5 separate regions of the Homo sapiens genome follow, and regions 2, 3, 4 and 5 are each linked to region 1. Evidence: promoter capture Hi-C in human tissues and cell types (Jung and others, 2019). All regions are on one chromosome and are shown on one strand. The core of a region is centred on a gene start or on the middle of the fragment in contact, and the rest is flanking DNA. Distances in the headings are between cores, read along the strand shown.

Region 1 (2,739 bases), core at 76-2,575:
CCCTGTAGATTTAGATAGCGATTATAACCGATTCAAGTCAGGAAATTTCTTCTGAAGTATACCTACCTGTGAAACCCTCCATATCTGGGGCGCTCTGTGCCACGGGTGTCAGACTTTTGCAAAAGCCCTGTCATTCTAACGGGACGCCCTCCTGTAGGAAGTTGCCCCCTGGCGCCCGTCCTCCGGCTTCTGATGAAACGGCGACCCACCACCCCCTTCCCAGACCCTGGCCCGCAGCCGGATCACTCCGGGCGCGCTGCCGATCACGTGGCGAAGCGGTGCTCCCCAGCGCCGTGGCTGCGCGCCCATTGGTCGGCGGCTGGAGTCCCGGGCGCGCCCATTGGCTGCGGGGGGCGTTCACGTGGCAGGGGGCCTGGGATGGACCCCGGGGTCCCGAGAGCTGGCAGGAAAGTTAAAGGGGGCAGCGCGGCCGCGGGGAGCTCGAGTCCCGGGTGACTGCTGGAGGGAGGAGGTGACCGCGCAGCTCTCGTGCACGGACGGACTTCGCCGCCCGCGGGGGGCGCGAACCCGAGCCCGGGCCCAGCTCCTGCCGTCACGGCAGCTGTCCCTGTTCCCCCAGGGCGTATGCTGCCGCGGGCTGGCGCGTCTGCCCTCGGGACTTATGAGCTGAACCCGGTACGTAGCTCCCCAAGTCTCGAGTCCGAGGGAAGGGCTGGGGACAACAAGGCGAGGGCGTGCAGCGGGGACCTCTTTGGGTTCCTGTCACCTACATTTTCACCGTGCGACTTGCACTGGCACACCGGGGCTGGAACACTCTAGGTAGCTGGCCCCAGGGAGCTGTTGCTTCAGCGTGGAGAGGGCGATCCAGGGACCGCAGCTGGGAAGCGCCTCCCGGGCCCACGTGCTCCACCGCGCTGCTGGGCCCGGCTGCGACCGTGACCCGGGAGCTGCGGCTGCGGCGGCTGATCCCTTTACCACCTGTTGTTCTGGCTTCGAAACTAGCACAAGTTCCCAGCCCCGGGTCCCGAGAGGTCTGGAGACTTCTCCAAAGTTGGGTAGTGGGGTTTGGAGCTTAAGGACAAGCCGCTTCGTCTCTCTCCGGGCCTTATTTTCCCTATAAAACGCGAGGAAATACACTTGGTAGGCTCTCAGGCCACCGAGGGCGACGGGACCTAGCACGATCCCCGTCCCGGGCTGGCGGAGGCCAGGCGGCCGCGCGGGGGTGCTGGTGTCGCGCTGCTTGCTCCGGCCGGGGTTGCCCCTTTGCCGGCCCCGCCCGGGTGCGATAACGGGCTCCTCCTCCTCGTCGTCTTCCTCCCACCGCCGACATCTCCGGGAACCCAGCCCAGGCCCTGCCTCCCGGACACACCGACGCTCACGTAGTCGCGCTTGCCACAACCCTGCGGGCTCTCCGATGCGGCGAGCGAGCTGGGGAGGGGGCTTCTCCGCGGCCCAAAAGGTGGGTGCGGCGCGAGGCCAAGGAGGCTTGTAGGGAGGTTGGGGGCGGAGTGCAGCCCTGGTCAAACTGGACGGAGGGGACAGAGTCGGAGAGTAACTTGTGGGATCCTCCAGCCTGGAGAGCACTGGCCTGCTCCTGCGTCTCTTTGGAATCCAGAAAAAGGGGTGTGGAAGGCACAGTAGCTGCAAAAGAGGGAGTGGGGGCCGGTAATGACTTACTGGAAGATTTGGGGCCTGTCAGAGCACTGTTTTCTGAAAAAGAGGAGAAAACAGAGGAAAGACTGGACTTGGGAACTTGGAGACTTGGAAGGTGTTGGAACCTGTGGTCTGAGTGGCGGGGGCCTGCCTGGGAGACCCAGGGTGCAGCAGAAGAGACAATTAGAGCTTTGGTCTGGGAGGAAGAGGAGGAGAGGAGGAAATGTTTCCTTGGGCAGAGTTGTCCAGGAGCCAAAACTAAAGTGAAGACAGCTGGAGGACTTACACAAAAGTACAGTTGAGGTATTTAGGAAAAAAAGTTAGTGGGAAGAGAAGCGGCACCAGGGGTGGGTCGCAACATACAATGTCAGGGCCAGCAGGGACCTTGGAGGGGACCTCAAGCCCAGAGCAGCTGAGTGACTCGCTCAAGTAGCAAAGCAAGGTGCGGGCATTCTTAGCCTAGTACTCTGTTTTCCCTCGTACGTTTTTAGACGGCAGGGGCTGTGTCATTTGAACTTGCCTCTTTCCTAGAATATGCAACTGTATTCACAAATGTCAGTCTCCAAGATGCTTTGGATGATGGGGACAGGATCAAGGGGTACAAGGAGCCTTTAAGGCTGTGAATAGGCCCCCATGGTCTGAGTACAAAGGGGAAAGACATGCACTCTCTTCATGCTGGATCAGTGAAACCTTTTGGAAGGGAACACAGAATTGTTGGAGGGAGGTAGATGGCCATGTCTTTAAAAATGAAAATTATAACCTGGTTGTGAATGTTTACTGAATGCAGTTCGGCAGCTTTCAGTGTTCCTGGTGGGTTGCTTGTGCATCTGATTTTTTTGTTTGTTTGGTTTTGTTTGTTTGTTTTGAGACGGAGTGTCGCTCTGTCGCCCAGGCTGGAGTGCAGTGGCGCCATCTCTGGCTCATTGTAAGCTCCGCCTCCCGGGTTCACGCCATTCTCCTGCCTCGGCCTCCTGAGTAGCTGGGACTACAGGCGCCCGCCACCACGCCCAGCTAATTTTTATTTGTATTTTTAGTAGAGACGGGGTTTCACCGTGTTAGCCAGGATGGTGTCGATCTCCTGACCTCGTGATCTGCCCGCCTCGGCCTCCCAAAGTGCTGGGATTA
Region 2 (2,739 bases), core at 146-2,645, 390 kb after region 1:
AACTGCCCAGACGGAATCCAAAACAGATTTGCAATACATTGAGAAGACTGTAGCTGGGAATGGCGGTGCATGCCTATAACCTCAGCTACTTGTGAGGCTGAGGCAGGAGGATTGCTTGAGCCCAGGAGTTGAAGACCAGCCTGGGCAACATAGCAAGATCTTGTCTCATAAAAAAAAAAAAAAAAGGATTATAAAATACAGATGCTAAGAGGGATTGTGTTAGTAAACCCATTTTATTTTTGACATGTAGTGCTATAGATGCTTTCAAACACTATCCCTTTAAAGGTTGCCTTTTTTGGACTCATAGGTCACAGCACACTGAGGTTACAGCAGTGGAAGTTGGAGCGCTATGGAAAGCAATTAGCAATATCTGTTAAAAGTCATTAAAGCATCCAAATCCCTTCATCAAGTAACTCTACTCTCAGACGTCTATCCCAACATTATAAAGAGATGGTCAAAAATGTATGTATAAAAGATGTTTCCAACAAAAATTAAAAGCAACAGCAGGAAAATGATTCAGCACAGTATGTGATAGAAAATGTCACTAAAATGATGCTTCTGAAGACTGTTCTAATAATATACAGAAATTTGTATGCAGTCTTAGTAAAGAAATGAGGTTGTGAGTTTTGCATACAATATTTTTCAACACACGTGAAGACAAATGCAAGACAAAAAGTTAACAGAGGGGGCCGGCACAACGGCTGACACCTGTAATCCCAGCACTTTGGGAGGCGAAGGTGGGTGGATTGCTTGAGCCCAGGAGTTTGAGTCCACCTTGGGCAACACGGCAAAACCCTGTCTCTACAAAAAATAAAAAAGTTAGCCAGGCATGCTGGTGCACATCTGTTGTCCCAGCTACTCCGGAGGCCGTGGTGGGAAGATCCCTTGAACCTGGGAGGCAGAGTGCTGAGATCGGGCCACTGTACTCCAGCCTGGATGACGGAGTGAGAGACTGTCTCAAAAAGATAAGGCTGGGTGCAGTGGTTCATGCTTGTAATCCCAGCATTTTGGGAGGCCGAGGTGGGCAGATGACTTGAGGTGAGGAGATCGAGACCAGCCTGGCCAACATGGTGATGCCCCATTCTTACTTAAAATACAAAAATTAGGCGGGCTTTGGTGGCATGTGCCATAGTCCCAGCTAGTCAGGATGCTGAGGCAAGAGAATCACTTGAACTTGGGAAGTGGAGGTTGCAGTGAGTAGAGATCATGCCACTGCACTCCAGCCTGGGTGACAGAGCAAGACTTCATCTCAATAAAAATAAAATAAAATAAAATAAAATAAAATAAAAAGATAAAAAGCTAACAGATTACTTTAGATTTGGGAGGATGGGTTATTTTTCCCTTCTCCTTAATACTTCACTCTGTTTCACAAACACCCACAATAAGCTTTACCTTAAAGCTTTTATAATTATAAATTTTTAAAATTATAAAAGTCATTTAAGAAACACAGCTGCTGTTCGTCCCTTAATTACTTGTTCCTTATTTGAGATTGCCTTGTCTCCCAGCTGGTCACCTGGTTCCTCTCTCCCTGCAGAACATCAAAGCTACAGAATTGACTTCTGCTGGTGTTGACTACGAATGTCACAGCCCATAAAGCCAGGTTTAATGGAAAATCCCAAGGTGGTGGGGACAACAGCCTATTTATTTTCAAATGATTATTTTAAGGATAACAGAAAGAAACACAGCAAGATGGGCCTTCATGGATGACTCTGGCTCTGAATCCCTGAGCAAAGTCAAGGGCCAGAGAGAGCAAACCAGTGCCAGCACACCTTGATCCTACAGGAAGGCAAGGATGGTTTCATACTTTTTTGGAACAGGCTTTTCTGCAGGAACTCCAAACTCTTGGAAGATTCCAGTGTTTTCCCCCTAAGTTAACCCATCCTAAAATAGTCAAGGTGGGGCCAAGGAAAATCAGAGAGCAGACTTTAAGCTTTGGATTTTTGGGCCACATCCAGTGTATGGCTTTTTCCACAAGTTTGTCTTATGGGGTAACAGCAAGTATACTTTGAAGGCATATCCCCCAGGGTAGTTACATCTCTGAATAATGAAATTATTGGCAGTGTTATTTTCTTTTTGATGCTTTTCTGTATTTTCTAATCTTTTTGAGTGAGTTTGTGTTGCTTTTATAAGGAAAAGAATACTTTTTATTTTTAACATCATAACTGAGGGTGATATATGAAAAAGGTGCATAGGAAAGAAGACTCAGAAGGTGGTGAAGTAAGACTTTATATATATCTTATTTATAATAAATAAGATATATCTTATTTATAATAAATAAGATATATCTTATTTATAATAAATAATATTACATATCTCTTATTTATAATAAATAATATACATATCTTATTTATAATAAATAATATTATATATATATAAAATACTTCCTTTGCATTTCCTAATTACTTTGTAATGGAACTACCTTCCATTTCCCATCAGAAAAATATACATTTATTGAAATGTACCTGAGTCCTAAAGTTCTAAGTGAACTCTAGAGAAATGTTTATTTTCATGGATAGATATTATTTTATTTCTGGGGTGGGAGGAGCAATTCATTGGCTCCAGATCATTAGACATCCACACAACTCAAGCTTGATGCTGTCGTAAGTATTTACTAAGCATTTTACTTAGGACTGCACTAGTCTATTTGTTTCACTCATTTATTCATGCAACATACATTTCGGATATTCTATACTTAACAAAAATTGAGACAGAGTCTTGCTCTGTTACCCAGGCTGGAAT
Region 3 (2,739 bases), core at 153-2,652, 360 kb after region 1:
GGGAGGCTGAGGCAGGAGAATGGCATGAACCCAGGAGGCGGAGCTTGCAGTGAGCCGAGATTGCGCCACTGCACTCCAGCCTGGGCAACAGAGCGAGACTCTGTCTCAAAAAAAAAAAAATAATAATAATACTGAGTAAGATGGAGCTTACATGGTGGGATTATTAGGAGTTGAAGATAAATAATGCACTAGAGTGAACAACCTAATTCCTGGCATGTAGTTAGTAAATGAGAGGTTTTTGGTTTTTTTGTTTTGTTTTGTTTTGTTTTGCTTTGCTTTGCTTTGTTTTGGTGATGTCGTTATTATCATGCTTGAATGAGCCCATGACTGAATCTTGTATGGACTGGAGAAGTGTTTAGGCAGATGCTGAATTATCAGTGTCCATGAAATCAGCGTCTCTCCTAATGAGAGATGGGGGATTGGAGGAAACGAATCGTAACTCCTTTTTCCTTTCCTTTCAATGTCTTTGTATATTTTATTAAAAGTTGCTAAAAAAAAAAAACCACTTTCAAAAACATCCCATCACATGTCATTGTAGGGAAGCAAAAATGAGAAAAACACTTGATATTTTTTCCTCTAACCATTTTATCGGAACTGAATCCCGCTTTATTTGCTGAGGCTGCAGTAGTTTATTCATTCTATATTGATCAGACTCCAGATTTGCGTGGACAACTTAACTTATAACATTTTAAGTAAAATCATGCATTTTAGGCAGACAGACATCTCACTTTTTAGTATATATTCCTTCTTCTAGAGGATTATTTGGTGTGTGTCTGCGTGTGACCGTGTGTGTTTATTGAAAGGAAACAGTTCCGTGTTTAGAGTTTTGGGTTGTTAGTTAGAGGTCTAGTTAAGCTATAAAATTACAGTGGAATAAGTGATGACAGCCAGTTAGTACAGTTCCCTCTTATAGCTGAACTGAGCTTAACACACCAACAGAAATGTTTGGCAAATAGACTGCTAAAATGACTCTTTCCTTTGTGGGGACATAAGTTGCCTGACATTTACATGTTTATAATGAGTCCTGGAAGTAGAAATGAAAATATGTGCAGAAAATAGATTTCTATCATCACTTCCTTTTCTTATTGAGGGTAGCATTGTCCAGTACGTTTTTGTCATCTCTGTGCTTTCTTGTTGTCCACCCATACAGGAAGAATGTTGGTGAAAAGCACAGAAACCAGTGACGTTTGTGGCTGTGGAATTTCCATGGAGAAAAGAGAGCATCTGAACACCTGGACCATCTTTTGCACCTGGCAGACCCTCTGCACTCACCCCAGCGTGTTCTGTGAACTTGAGTGACAACGCGTGCTTGCAGGGTGCTTTTTGGACGACTGGGGAAGAGGTGGGGAGGGGGTGGTGGGGGGAAGCATGGACGAGAACATGGAGCAAATGTTTTACAACCTGAACCTCAGAACTGTGATCCTCCAAGGAGCGCGCTACTTGAAGAAAAGAAAAAAAAAAAAAAAAAGTCGAATGGCTTCTCAGGGATTTTGTTTTCCGTGCACATATAAGCCATAGTTACAGTACAGGTGGCAGTATTTAGAGCACTCAGATTTCAGTTCTGTTAAATGTGAAAGAGGGATCGACTGACGTTCATTGCTGTTCCATAACTAGTGTAAAATATGTATATGTTTATCTTTATTTTTATAATATGCAAATACATTTAAATTTATACAGTTTGAAGCTTCTAGCGTTAGTTCACACTGGGTGCAATATTCTGCATGAGAACTGTGCCAAGATGGGGCTGATTTCTTATTTTAGTATAAGACTTTTTTGTTTTTTCTTTATTCTTTAATCCTCTTCACATTAAAAAAAAAATCTCTCTGTTAGCCCATGGATTAAGTGTTGGTTCATAGAGATTGCCAATAATCAGAAAGAACCTTAAATGTGCATTTAAGACAGTGTCCCTTCCCTTCTTTTCAATGAAGGTCCCTGCCTATATAAATCATCTGGCACGCTGGTGGGAAATCCTTTGCTCTTCCAACGTGTTATTAGTGCTGGGCAGAGATGGGGCACACTCAGGGGCCAAAGAGGACAAAAAGTCCATGCAAAACTTGAGTCTTTTAATGGCTTAAGATAATCAGGAGTCAGTTCTGAATCTTACAAAGTGCTCTGCTTAATAAGTACCTTACTTAGCAGAGCACTTTGCAAACATATTACTTATTAGCAGAGCTCTTTGTAGACCTTCCACATCTGGCTGTCAGATCTTAAGGTTGTGAATTTAGGCTCCAGTTACATTCACTGGAGAGCATAATCCCACACGGGTTATTTATAAATACAGAGCCTCTGATTGGACGGTCTCCTGCCAAGAACTAGTAATACCCTTGTTTTAAAATCTTCACAAGGTAAAACTTAAAAAGCCAACCAAACAAATTGCTCTCCATTCTACTTTTAATTGGGCCAAACAGCATATGCTACAGTAGTAACATGTTTTTCGGAGAGTGTAAAAAACTCTGTTTACATTTGCCTCCTCCGTGGGTTGATCGAAAATGTATAAAACTGACTGCTTCTCGCCAGCCTCAGACAAGAAGAGTGAGTTGCTGGTACTCGCTACTCTTTTACTTCTTTTGTAAAGTATTGACTCTTGGAAGGCTACAGTATACAAAGTCTCAACATGTTTTTTAAAAGAAATAAGGAGCAAGCGACTGCCCTGCTAGAAATCACAAACCGATTTTTGTAGAATATTTTGTGCCCCAGGCATTAATTTCACTGACTCCAGAACCTGCAGTTCAGAGAATG
Region 4 (2,739 bases), core at 119-2,618, 310 kb before region 1:
GATCTAGACTTTTATTCCACTCCCATTGGTCTGTTTATCTATTTATATGCCAATACCACACTACTTTAATTACAGAGGTTTTGTAGTATGTTTTACAACCTAAGAAGGCTAATCACTTTCACAGTTCCTCCTTTTCAGAGCTTCCTTAGCTATTCTTGCTTATTTATTTTTCTATAAGAATGTTGTTACCACTTGCCTACCTCCAGAAAAATAAAAGCTTATTTTAAAAACTATGATTGCATTATATTTATAACTAAACTCAGGGAGAACTCACATCATTATGATGTTGAAATGTCCTATTCAAGAACAAGGAAGGTCTTTTGCTTAGGAATTCATTAAAATTTGTATTAGAATTTTAAATTAATTAGAACTCTAAGTCCAGTTGAATTAACATGGTATGATTAAACCCAAGGGTATCATATTAGAGGAATTATGATCACCATGTGGACACATATGCACATCATATTCTCTCCCAAATGCAAGTTTACAGAATACACACAAACTCTAATGTATTTCCTTTGAACAGGATCTTGTAGAAGAACTTAAAATTGCCCATTGAGCTATAAACATTTAACTTTCCTTCCAAAATGAAATAAAAATAACACAGGAGGCATGACCTTTTGCAAAATATGTGATTTGAAAAGCTCATTAAAAATGCAGGATGTTATTCTGATCCTACAAACATTGACCTCAGATGAAGGAAAGGTTCTTCAAAACAGATAGAAAGATCAGAGCTGAATTGCTGATGACCTAATGCAGAATAGTTTCATTCCTGCATATGGAGGTTAGCAACTCTAAGTTATTATTATATATAAAAACTTGTCATTTGTGTGAGAGAAGTACCTCCTTGCTCACAAAATCTGTTTTTTACTCTTGTGGTATGACTCATGAAAAGAATTTTAGAAAGAGCTTATTTTTGAACTTACCTTTGAAATTATTGTCATTCAATACTGATTCACTATTGTGCTTGTGGCCATTTGATAAACTGCCACATAACCACAGGGATGCTGGGAAGACCAGGTGGGCCTCACTGTCGCCAGGAGACAGAGGTCACCGAGACAGTAAGTTCTTCTACCACGGATCATTAGGCACAAAAACAAGCCATGCATAAAGCTCATTGTTTCAAAGGGCTTGACCACAAAGGAGTGAGCTCTTAAAATGTTGAATGTCTAAACATTAAAATACGATACCAAAAGCCCTGTGACATCCAGAAGGCTGTGGACTTTTGGTTTTGAATTTATGAGCTGTATTCATTTCTCCCCTCAATGTGATTTCCTGGGCAATTGCCTTACCCACTCATTTCTCTCATGAAATGTTACTTGCTATTTGTATTTCTTTCACTTACTCTTTGCTCTTTAGCCCAGTGTTTGAAATGTTGGATTCTATAGTCAGACATATATGGATTGAAACGCTCTCTGCCATGGTCCTGGCTGTGTCCCTGGGTGAAGAACTTAACATTTCTTGTGGCTTCGGTTCCTCTATTGCAAAATTGGGACTATATTGGTAGTGACTTATGGAGTTAATGTGCAGATTAAATTAGATAACATATACAAAGAGTAGTCCAAAGTGTTTGCTATGTTGGCAGTGAAGTCCAATAGATACAGCTGTTATTGTTATTTAATCTTTTGTTTGTTATTTAAAAATTTTTCAGTTACACAAATAATTAGAGAAAATTTAGAAAATTTGAGGAAAACAATAAACAATAATCCTATTCACCAAAACAATCACTTCTGTCATTATTGTATTGCTATTCATTCTTTTTAAAACAATGTTTTTTGAATTCTGTTTTCATCACTTGGCATCTTTACATTGTCCTTTAAAAAAAATTGAGACAGGGTCTTCCTCTGTCATTCAGGCTGGAGTGTGATGGCGTGACCACAGCTCACTGTAACCTCTGACCTCCTGGGCCCAAGTGATCCTTTTGCCTCAGGCTTCCAAGTAGCTGGGACTACAGGTGTGCACTACCACGCCTGGCTAATTTTTCCTTTTTCTTTTTTGTACAGACAGAGTCTCACTATGTTGCCCAGGATAGTCTCAAACTCCTGGGCTCAAGCAATCCTCCCACCTCAGGCTCCCAAAGTGCTGGGATTACAGGTGTGAGCCACCACACCCAGCCTACATTCTACATTTTATGCTACAAAACAGTCTTTGTAATTATTTTTAATGACTACATGATAATTTTATTAAGAAGGTGGACACTAATTTACTTGTTGGCTGATATACTAATGAATATTTTGGTGATTTTAATTTTTTTCTGTTAGTAATATTTCTGTGCAATGATAAGTATATTACATAGATTTATTCCTCTATAATTGTATTTTTCTCTGGGATATACTTATAGAATTGAAATTATTGAGTCAAGGATAGACACTTTTCATGGCTCTTAACACATATTATAAATCATTTTACTAAAAGTATTATTTCAGTTTGCCATGTCAGCAGCAAAAGTTAATTTGGAATAGTTTTTTTTAATGATGAAAGGATTTTTTTGTTTCTTAAATGTTTGCAATAATTTAATACTGAAGGCATTGTGGCTTGAAATATTCTATTGCGCTTAGCCCTCTGATAACATTTCTTATTTTTCTCCTGGTTATTTGCTTAGTCTGCTGGAGCACAGATCCCTGGCTGGGGCCCAGTATCCATTCTTCTCTTCTCCTTGGCAGTAGAATTTTGGATGTTTAGCTTACATATAGCCAATGAATTAAGACTACACTTTCCAGCTTCCTTTGCAGCTATGTG
Region 5 (2,739 bases), core at 171-2,670, 300 kb before region 1:
GAATTAGAACTTCTCAGTGTTGAACAATGATTCATGCAAGATCGCCCAGGAGCTTTGTGCAATAAAAAGATAGCTCAAGTGACTCAGACTTCAACATCTTACAGTGTGTGTATGTGACTCCTTTTTTGTTATGGGGTAAAGTAGTCCAAACTTCTGCAAACCACAAATCTAATAGAGATCAAAACAGCAAGTTAAAAATTGGATCCATACTTTGGTTAAACAGGGTGTTATATAGATTCATTAATGACTTTTGCCACCAAAATTTTTCCAAAGAGATACTCTGCACATGGAGGATAAGAGCACTAAATATCTTAAGATCATCCTGAAGTTTAATTCCCTGCGGTTCTGGTCTCTGGGAACTGTTTAGCTCTTCCAAGCTTCACATTCTCCAAACTTTCAAAGGGATGTCAGCCTCAGATGGGATGATCCTCTGGGAAAACAGAGCTCCATAAATACATCAAGTCTAATTATCAGCATGAAAAATCCTTTCTGAGGATGCCTGGTGGTAGTCAGGATCAGAACACAGGAGGAAAGGAAAGGGCGGAAAGAGATGAGAGATGAAAGAATCATGTTAGCTGGAACGTGGCCCATGGCCCATCCAAACGAAAAGCGTAGACATTTATGTTTGGCTATTAGTTATCTGTGTGCTTCCTCTTCTTCCTTGTGAAATGGCTGGACTCCTCTGCAACTGCTGTGCTTTCTCTCCTTCTTTCTTTTCTCTTCTTTTTTTTTTTTTTTTTTTTTTGAGATGGAGTCTGGCTGTGTCACCCAGGCTGGAGTGCAGTGACGCAATCTCAGCTCACTGCAAGCTGTGACTCCCAGGTTCACGCCATTCTCCTGACTCAGCCTCCCGAGTAGCTGGGATTACAGGCGCCCGCCACCACCCCCGGCTAATTTTTTGTATTTTTAGTAGAGACGAGGTTTCACTGTGTTAGCCAGGATGGTCTCGATCTCCTGACCTCGTGACCGCCTGCCTTGGCCTCCCAAAGTGTTGGGATTACAGGCGTGAGCCACTGTGCCCGGCCAACTGCTGTGCTTTTTCAAAAATGCCTTTGAGGGGCAAGAAATAAATATCTAGACATAGTTTTAATGGGATATTCTTTATCCCATTCACTCACAGAAGTTCCTATGCTCAGCTAATAGATTGTGAGCCACTTGAGGGCAGGGACATTTTGTTTGACATCTCTAGCTCCTTTTTTCTCTGAATTCCTTCTTACTCTCCACGATCAGGTTCATGTTGCTTCTTGAAGGAATCTTCAGCCGAGTTCTAAATAATTTTTTAATTAGAAAATTAGGTGTGGGGAGATCATCTGGGGAGGTTCCAAGATGGCCGAATAGGAACAGCTCCAGTCTACAGCTCCCAGCGTGAGCAACGCAGAAGATGGGTGATTTCTGCATTTCCAACTGAGGTACCAAGTTCATCTCACTGGGGCTCATTGGACAGTGGGGGCAGGACAGTAGGTGCAGCCCACTGAGCGTAAGCCAAAGCAGGGCGAGGCATCGCCTCACGTGGGAAGCTCAAGGGGTCAGGGAATTCCCTTTCCTAGCCAAGGGAAGGGGTGACAGACGGTACCTGGAAAATTGGGTCACTCCCACCCTAATACTACGCTTTTCCAATGGTCTTCACAAACAGTACACCAGGAGATTATATCCCGCACCTGGCTCGGAGGGTCCCACGCCCATGGAACCTCCCTCATTGCTAGCACAGCAGTCTGAGATAGAAATGCCAGGTGGCAGCAAGGCTGGGGGAGGAGCACCCGCCATTGCTGAGGCTTGAGTAGGTAAACAAAGCCTCCAGGAAGCCCAAACTGGGTGGAGCCCACCGCAGCTCAAGGAGGCCTGCCTGCCTCTGTAGACTCCACCTCTGGGGGCAGGGCATAGCCAAACAAAAGGCAGCAGAAACCTCTGCAGACTTAAATGTCCCTGTCTGACAGCTTTGAAGAGAGTAGTGGTTCTCCCAGCATGGAGTTTGAGATCTGAGAACGCACAGACTGCTTTCTCAAGTGGGTCCCTGACCTCCGAGTAGCCCAACTGGGAGGCACTCCCCAGTAGGGGCAGACTGACACCTCACATGGCCAGGTACCCCACTGAGACAAAGCTTCCAGAGGAACCATCAGGCAGAAACATTTGCTATTCAGCAATATTCATTTTTCTGCAGCCTCTGCTGCTGATACCCAGGAAAACAGGGTCTGGAGTGGACCTCCAGCAAACTCCATCAGACCTGCAGCTGAGGATCCTGACTGTTAGAAGGAAAACCAACAAACAGAAAGGACATCCACACCAAAACCCCATCTGTATGTCACCATCATCAAAGACCAAAGGCAGATAAAACCACAATGATAGGGAAAAAACAGAACAGAAAAGCTGAAAATTCTAAAAATCAGAGCACTTCTCCCCCTCCAAAGGAACGCAGCTCCTTGACAGCAACGGAACAAAGCTTCATGGAGAATGACTTTGACGAGTTGAGAGAAGAAGGCTTCAGACGATCAAACTTCTCCAAGCTAAAGGAGGAAGTTCGAACCCAACGCAAAGAAGTTAAAAACCTTGAAAAAAGATTAGACGAATGGCTAACTAGAATAACCAGTGTAGAGAAGTCCTTAAATGACCTGACTGAGCTGAAAAACATGGCACGAGAACTACCTGATGAATACATAAGCTTCGGTAACCGATTTGATCAACTGGAAGAAAGGGTATCAGTGACTGAAGATCAAATGAATGAAATGAAGGGAGAAGAGAAGT

The links. Contacts are between HindIII fragments. The study calls those that stand out against the background at their distance.
Region 2: a fragment that was not itself captured here is called in contact with the fragment with the promoter of PPP1R3B in region 1 in 1 of the 25 tissues and cell types used here (spleen).
Region 3: a fragment that was not itself captured here is called in contact with the fragment with the promoter of PPP1R3B in region 1 in 1 of the 25 tissues and cell types used here (hippocampus).
Region 4: a fragment that was not itself captured here is called in contact with the fragment with the promoter of PPP1R3B in region 1 in 1 of the 25 tissues and cell types used here (lymphoblastoid cells).
Region 5: a fragment that was not itself captured here is called in contact with the fragment with the promoter of PPP1R3B in region 1 in 2 of the 25 tissues and cell types used here (aorta and lymphoblastoid cells).

The regions. Positions count from the first base shown.
Region 1 is chr8:9,149,244-9,151,982 of GRCh38, reverse strand. It overlaps PPP1R3B (protein phosphatase 1 regulatory subunit 3B), which reads left to right and starts at 1,325. Exons shown (of 2, transcript NM_024607.4): 1 at 1,325-1,420. It overlaps PPP1R3B-DT (PPP1R3B divergent transcript), which reads right to left and starts at 258. Exons shown (of 5, transcript NR_183348.1): 1 at 67-258. RefSeq lists silencers at 321-570, 1,071-1,340 and enhancers at 691-930, 977-1,925. The HindIII fragment of the contact is 27,491 bases long and covers 1-2,739 here.
Region 2 is chr8:8,759,697-8,762,435 of GRCh38, reverse strand. No RefSeq gene overlaps it. Among named protein-coding and RNA genes, the nearest start is that of CLDN23, 59 kb to the right of the region's middle. The HindIII fragment of the contact is 4,104 bases long and covers 1-2,739 here.
Region 3 is chr8:8,784,467-8,787,205 of GRCh38, reverse strand. MFHAS1 (multifunctional ROCO family signaling regulator 1) reads left to right here. Exons shown (of 3, transcript NM_004225.3): 3 at 1,151-2,739. The coding sequence ends at 1,184. Among named protein-coding and RNA genes, the nearest start is that of CLDN23, 84 kb to the right of the region's middle. The HindIII fragment of the contact is 5,004 bases long and covers 1-2,739 here.
Region 4 is chr8:9,462,237-9,464,975 of GRCh38, reverse strand. No RefSeq gene overlaps it. Among named protein-coding and RNA genes, the nearest start is that of TNKS, 92 kb to the left of the region's middle. The HindIII fragment of the contact is 4,800 bases long and covers 1-2,739 here.
Region 5 is chr8:9,446,029-9,448,767 of GRCh38, reverse strand. No RefSeq gene overlaps it. Among named protein-coding and RNA genes, the nearest start is that of TNKS, 110 kb to the left of the region's middle. The HindIII fragment of the contact is 5,447 bases long and covers 1-2,739 here.